2 separate regions of the Homo sapiens genome follow, and region 2 is linked to region 1. The links are contacts of gene promoters, found by promoter capture Hi-C in blood cells and fetal thymus (Javierre and others, 2016). All regions are on one chromosome and are shown on one strand. Each heading gives the region's core, a stretch centred on a gene start or on the middle of the fragment in contact. The rest is flanking DNA. Distances are from core to core; before and after follow the strand shown.

Region 1 (3,648 bases), core at 427-2,926:
CAGGAAGGAAATGTGAACATTTCATTAATATTCATTTAAAAAATATTCATTGAACACTTACTACGTGTAAGCAGGCACTCTACTAATTAACAGCCATTTCAGATTTTCAGAGTGCAAAGGGCCTCAAGAACAAATGATTTATTTTTTTGAGACATGGTCTCGTTCTGTCTCACACCCTGCAGTGCAGTGGCATTATCACCGCTCACTGTAGCCTCCACCCCCTGCCCCACAGCTCAAGTAATTCTCTCACCTCAGCTTCCCCAGTAGCTGAAACCACAGGCTTGGGCAACCACGTCTGGCTCATATTTTTATTATTTGTAGAGACGGGGGTCTTGCAACATTGCCCAGGCTGGTCTGGATCTCCTGGAACCGCCTTTGCAAAATTATAACTGAGGAAATTATGGCAGTGAAAGAAATCAGACCTAACGGATTCCATCTTGCTTCTAACTTTTGTTTTTGAGACTAGTCTCGCTCTGTCGCCCAGGGTGGAGTGCAGTGGCGTGATCTCTGCTCACTGCAAGCTCCGCCTCCCGGGTTTAAGCCATTCTCCTGCCTCAACCTCAGGAGTAGATGGGACTACAGGCGCCCACCCCCACGCCCGGCTAATTTTTTGTATTTGTAGTAGAGACGGGGTTTTAGCCAGGATGGTCTCGATCCCCTGACCTCGTGATCCGCCCGCCTTGGCCTCCCAAAGTGCTGGGATTACAGGCGTGAGCCACCGGCCGCTTCTAACTTTTAAGCTGTCCTTCTTCATTCCTGAGCCTAGGCTGAACCAATTTAGGGAGGAATTCAGTTTATGGTTTGACTCTGAAACAAAATTGATAATATCCCTTTCCCAAAAAGACCGCTTTTTTGCCTGGGGACCAGTCTGCCTTTGCAGAACCAACAGATTAGCTACAAGATTAGAAATTACAGTTTAGAGGTCATGCAGCCTCTGGCTCCAAGTTTCTGAACCTCCCCAAATTGCTCCTGGGGATAACATCACTATTGTAAAACCTAAGATAAGTTCTTGAGATATTTTGCAGACCCTGCTCTCCATGGATCAGTTGAAACCACCCAGATTGGTAATTTGGCTCAACCAGTTCTGCCATCCTACCCAGGAACAGAAAACAGCAAGAAAAACTCACGTCTACCCACTATGAGTCCATCTCCAACCTGACCCATCAGCACTCCCTACTTCCCAAGCCCCTAATCGCCGAATTATCTTTAAAAACTCTGAATACTGCTTGGGGAGACTCCATTGCAAGTCCCCTGTCTTGATAAATGGGCTATCGGTCAGCAGCAGGCAAAGTGAACCACAATATTGGGTGGTTACACTCCTAGGATCAAGCAATCCTGCTGTCCGGCTTCCCAAAGTGCTGGGATTACAGGCGTAAGCCACCGCGTCCAGCTAGAACAAATGATTTCTTAAAAGCAACTCAGATATTTAAATATTATTTAAAACTGTTTCTAGACAAATCGGAGTGACTATGGGACAAGCATATGGTCGCAGGACTTTGGACGCAGGCAGTGAGGACACCTATGAGCGATCAGTGGGGTCCTACGGCAGCCGTGGAACTGCTCTGCCTTGCAGGCGAAAGTGTGGTCAGCTATATCGGAGCGCGATGGGGGCCTGAGAGGCGCATCTGCGCAGGCGCCCGGCTCCTAAGTCTACCCAGGAACTGACCCTGCTCTCTCCTTTCCCTGTTAGACATGGTAAGTGTGAGTTTAGCGCTGCTGTCCGGATGGGTTGGTAGCAGACAGGGTGGAGTAGGGTTAAGCACACTGGTCACCTTAGGATTGGTTTCCTGGTGCTGGAGAATGGTTAGGACACAGGCCTTGGAAGGTTTTTTGAGTGTGAAATATTACTCAGCGTTTTCTGCAGACCTCGCGGGCAATGCCGCTTCTAATTTTATCCAGGCCTTCTTCTGTAGGGAGGGCCTGTTAAGAGTTGAGCAGCCCGATTTCTGAACCCCTCTAAAAAGCTGTGGCTGATTGGTGGCTTTTTTTTTTCTTGGAGAGGGGGTGTCAAAGATTTCTTTAAAATCGTTAGTGATGTGGTCTCGCTTTAAGATTTTTAATGGGATCAGAAGAAAATTCGGTACTTAATCACTTCCGGTAATCTTCATGACCTGTTATAGTGACTGCAGTGTACTCTCAATGAGGAAGATATAGATACGAAAAGAACTAGAGCCGCATCACATGGGGACTTCTGCAAATACAGAGACTCGGATTAAAGGTGGAGAAGATGGAGCTAAAGGAACTGCTTATTTAATACATTTGAACAACTTTTGGGGTACTTAGAAGGTGCTTTGAAACCTGCATTTGATTAAGCAAGAATTCGCTTGCAAGTTAAGGGTTAGATTTTTTTATTTTTTAAAAATATGCTTTCTGCCACATGTAAACCGTAAGTTGTCCTGAAATGATAAGCTTTGATATTCTATGGTGTTTATTTTTTACTTATCTTTTTGAATGAAAAGTGAACAACAAGAAATGCTGGTGGTAATTTTTTGGGTCAATGATGAGTTGGCATGTATTCTGAATCTAAAGTTGATTATTACTACTTTAGCTCTAGAATTACTCTGAGACCTGAAAATTACCTGAATCGTGACTAAGACGAAGCCTGAATGATTTAAGTTCTTTTTTGTTGGATACAATTTGTTGTTGTTGTTGTTGTTTTGGTTTTGTTTTTGAGTCGGTCTCCGGTCGCCCAGGATGGAGTGCAGTGACACAACCTCAGTTCACTGCAGCCTTAATTTCCCTGGCTCAAGCGATCTTCTACCTCAGCCTCCCTAGTTAGTTACAATTTTTAAATGGAACGTTTTCCTATTACAAGATGAAATCAAGTGAAAATTGAGATGTATGTTGAATCTATGCTGTGGGGCAGAAGAACGTTGTAGAGGTAAACATTGATGAGATTACCACTTTATTTTGAAAGGGCACTCCACAGAAGGATGTTATTATCAAGTCAGATGCACCGGACACTTTGTTATTGGAGAAACATGCAGATTATATCGCATCCTATGGCTCAAAGAAAGATGATTATGTATGTATAATTTTTTTATGTTGGAAAGTTTATTTTAAAGAAGTGTGACAGTCATAAGCAGTGAGACAGTATTTATGTCTTAAAATGGCATCCAACTCCATGCAGAGAACTGAGGATGTGCTGTGCCTTTGAACTTCAGTTAAGTGTGCTTTGGACGTCTGAGGCTGTGGGCTTATTAGAATCTCAGTTTTTACCTATACTGAGAGGGCTTGCCAGACAAAGTAGATGAGGGTTTGAGGTACAAAACGGGTTTCTCTTTTTGTAGTTAGGGGTAATACTTTCAAGGTCAATGATGTGTTGGCATGTATTATCTGAATCTATTGCTGATGTGTAATAACACTTTAGCTCTAGAATTACTCTGAGACCTTGAAAAAGTTTTACCTTAAATTTTTAAATTTCGAGGAAAACTCTGGGACAATCTTAGCAAAAAGTAGTAAACAACTTAGTTAAGAGTAAATGTTTTTCCCTGTAGTATCCAAACTCAGTTGTCTTAGTCTACCGATTTGTGGGATATATGGTATGTATTAATTTTTTACTTAAGTGTTAGGTTCCCATAACCTTGAAAATACTCTATTAGCAATCATGGAGTTAAGGCCATATGGATGGGGCTGGACTCGTTTCTG
Region 2 (3,648 bases), core at 323-2,822, 1.5 Mb after region 1:
AGGGCCATGTTAGGAAACACCTTCTTTTGAAAGTGGGTGCTCAGGATAACAGAGATATACAAAAACTTCTCTTCTGCTTTCATAAAAGTGACAGAGACAGGAGATAACCAAGGATCCCCGGCGAAATCCCACCTTCAAGCCTAAAACAGCCTGAAGGCTGACAGAGCAGACTGCTGGTCCCAGATGAAACCCAGACCCAGAGGGAGAACTGCCCCTGTTTACCCACCCTTTCTCAACTAATTCTTTCTGAATAGTGCCCACATGAGCACTGGGGGGATGGGGTGGAGCCACAGGAATTCGTTCCTTGCGCAGCAGGGAGGAGCCTGGCCTCTTCAGCCCATGGGTGGTGGCCTGGCGTTCTGTTCAATCTGTGAGGTGGGAGCCTATTAGCAGGACCTCTTCTTTTTTTGCTGAGAGCTTTCTTTTAATAAATTCTGCTCTCCTCACCTTTCAATGTGTCTGCATGCCTAATCTTTCCTGGTTGCAGGACAAGAACCTCGTTTTAGCTGAACTAAGGAGCAAAAATGTCTGCATCAAAAGTAGTTCCAACATTGAGACTTCCAACATTTCATTAGCATGAAATAATCTTAACAAATATCACCTTCCAATTTCTGAAAATTACAAACAAGAATATTGTGGAAGACAAGAGGAACACAATACAACATTTCCTTAAAAGGAATATGCCATGGGCTTGTGTTGTATTTTCTGGAGGTGAGATGATTAATGACCTCTGAGAATCTATTTGGAGCTTGTAATTTGAAAATAGATTAACTGATGAGAAGCTTTGTTTTGATCCAAATAATGGAAGTGTAACAACAGGCTAGTTTTTAGAAACGGCACGAACAAGCTCATAACAATCTTTTTCTGTCCTAATGATTGCGATTCTGTAAAACTGGTGACCAGGGACAGCTGGATGGGAAGGACACCTAGCACCAATTATCAGGGATTAGTAGACACTCTATTTGTTTGATTTAAATTGCATCCTGTTTGTTAGCTACAGGCATGAGAGATAATCATGAAGGCAATTCAAATACTCGAGCACAAATCATAGTCATGAATAGAGAAACTTGGGTCTATAACTTGCTGCAATTAGTCTTCTTTTCCCCGACATCTCAAGATTAGTTAATGTTGATAGAATTTGAAAATGATAACCCTAGAAAATAACGGAGCAAATACATTTACAAATTCAAAGCACATCAAGCAATGGGGCTGCATATGCTCACAAAACAGAAGTAATATTTAAATGTATTATAAATTATTCAAATCATAATTTTAGAGTATTTATTATGTACATGATAAACTGCATAAGGGTAAACCATGAAGACACATTTTTGGGTCAAGGCAGATGAGAAAAACAAAGGTACATAAATAAGGAAGAAGGCAGGATAGAGGTACAAGTAACATTCTAAAGAGGATAAAGGAAGAAATCACTTAAATCCATTAGGGCTAAATAAAGATGGCTTTTAGAGAGAAGGTTGTCTTTAAATGGAGCCTTGGAGGTATGGAAATATTTGACTAAGTACAAAACAGGAAACTAATTGTATTTGTCAGGTTGGTGCAAAAGTAAATGCAGTTTTTGCCATTAAAAATAATTGCAAATGGCAAAAACTGCAATTACTTTTGCACCAATCTAATATTTAAGTGTAAATAGCCATGTGACGCTAGTGAGTACCATAATGGATGGTGAAGAAAATGGTGGCCACTCAACATTTTTGCACAAGAGAGGGACATTCTTGGAGAAATGTTTTGGTATTAGTTTTCCTCTGCACAATCTAAAATGTTGATTTATTTGGGGAAGGGACCTCTTTAACTTAATCACTACTCATATATCTCCAATAGATCTTTAATTTTATGATTTCATCTGATTAGAAAAACAGTGTAAATGTTAATTGTATTGCAGAAGGACAATTAATAGAAGAAACGTGGTTAAACAGACTAGCTAAAAACAGGAACAGATGGTAAATTCTGGTAAGTTTTAAAATTTTCCAGCACACCAACATGAATGCCTTGTGACTACTGAGAAAAAACACATTTTATTCCTTGGATGGAAAGATTTTATCTTACTCATCCTCGGCTGATTAGTGTATGCAACACTAATACATTGTTCATGAGACATATAGTAAAGACAAAAATAAGCAATGTAAACAACTCAGAAGGGCATACTGGTCCTGATACATATGTATGACTTAGAAATTTTAGGCCTCTAGGCTCAACAGAATTGCTGCTTGTCAATAATGATAAAAATAATAATATAATAAAAACTTAAATGTGTTATTTGCATTCTGTGAAAACAAATTTTTAAAAATCTGTTTTAAAAAATAATCTGTTAAAAATGATCTGTTCGTTTTTCTCTAAGACCTCCAAAAGCTTTTAGTTCTAAGCATATGTTAGAATATTTCTTTAAATCAAAACAATAATGTTTCTCTCTGTATTTTACCTGCAGCTTTGAAACTTAGAGGGTCTTTGGAGTTCAAGTTGCTCCCTTATTTATATCTATCATAGCCAAGTTAGGATTACTGGTTGATGGATGAAGACTAGATTTGATGGAATTACAGATTTCGCATGGGCAGGTAAAATATTCGTGCAGAATGGACATTGAAGTTCTAAAACATTTAAGTTGAAAGCATATCCTGAAGCAAGTGTAAATTCCCCTCTTCCACTTGCACAGAGGTTGTACAATGTGTGAGTCAACCTAACATGTAGGTTACCTTTAGAGCTCAAATGGCTGCTATAAGCCAAGGGTTGCAGATGAAAATGAAGAAATACGGTCAGTAAGCAGTAGGGAGAACCTACCATCTGCCAGACTCCCTTCAGAGCCAGTTGTCCTGTTGCTTCTCTGGGTTGCATAGAGTTCTTTACCATCTAACTATTAAATAATTTTGTAAGTTAGTAAGCCTCTTGAGGCCAATTAATTGTCTCCACACTATCCTCAGGCCAAAAACCATGAAGTCATACTTGAGGATTTCTTTTTCTCTCATATACTACATCCAAGCTGTCAAGAAACCCTATTTGTTCTATCTTCAAAATATATCTAGGATTTAACCAGTTCTCATTGTCTCTGCTGCCAATATTTGAGTCCATGCCTTCGTCACCTCACACCTGAGTCACAATAGCCTTCCAAGTGTTCTCCCCACTCCTACCTTTTCTCTCTTACATATACCTAAACCAGCAGACAGAGAAGCCTTTTAAAATGTAAGTCAGATCATATTAGTCTTGGCTTGAAACGTTTCTCTAACTTCCCATTAGAGAAGAACTGACAATGGTTTACAAGGTCCCAAGTGCTTTGGCCCCATTCCTCTCTGTTCTTCTCCTTCCTCACCCTGTTCCTGCTACACTAGCCTCCTTGCTGTTGCCAGAAAGTGCCAGGAATCTGCCCTTGCTAGGACATTTGAAGTGGTTGCTCTCTCACTTTCTCAAACCTTTGCTGGAATTTCACCTTCTCAATGAGGCCTTCCCTGACCACTCTGTATAAAACTGAAGCCAGCCTTCTAGTTCTCCTTACCCTCCTCTACTTTTCCTTTTCCCATGGTATTTATCACCATCTAACAACAATTTCATATACTTGTTTATTATATCTGTTGCAAATTATCTCCTGCTCCTAGATAAATGCTCCATGCATGTGTTTTATTCACCTACGCGCCTGACAGC

The links. The method cuts DNA at HindIII sites, captures the fragments that hold promoters and counts their contacts. A CHiCAGO score of 5 or more calls a contact.
Region 2: a contact is called between a fragment that was not itself captured here and the fragment with the promoter of RABGGTB in region 1, in 1 of 17 cell types (M1 macrophages). The highest score is 5.9, in M1 macrophages.

The regions. Positions count from the first base shown.
Region 1 is chr1:75,784,580-75,788,227 of GRCh38, forward strand. It overlaps RABGGTB (Rab geranylgeranyltransferase subunit beta), which reads left to right and starts at 1,677. Exons shown (of 9, transcript NM_004582.4): 1 at 1,677-1,695; 2 at 2,918-3,025. The coding sequence starts at 1,693. SNORD45C (small nucleolar RNA, C/D box 45C) reads left to right here and starts at 2,493; the gene lies at 2,493-2,570. It overlaps SNORD45A (small nucleolar RNA, C/D box 45A), which reads left to right and starts at 3,310; the gene lies at 3,310-3,393. RefSeq lists enhancers at 259-478, 1,419-1,648 and a silencer at 1,709-1,768. The HindIII fragment of the contact is 7,492 bases long and covers 1-2,407 here.
Region 2 is chr1:77,275,100-77,278,747 of GRCh38, forward strand. No RefSeq gene overlaps it. Among named protein-coding and RNA genes, the nearest start is that of AK5, 5.1 kb to the right of the region's middle. The HindIII fragment of the contact is 1,585 bases long and covers 781-2,365 here.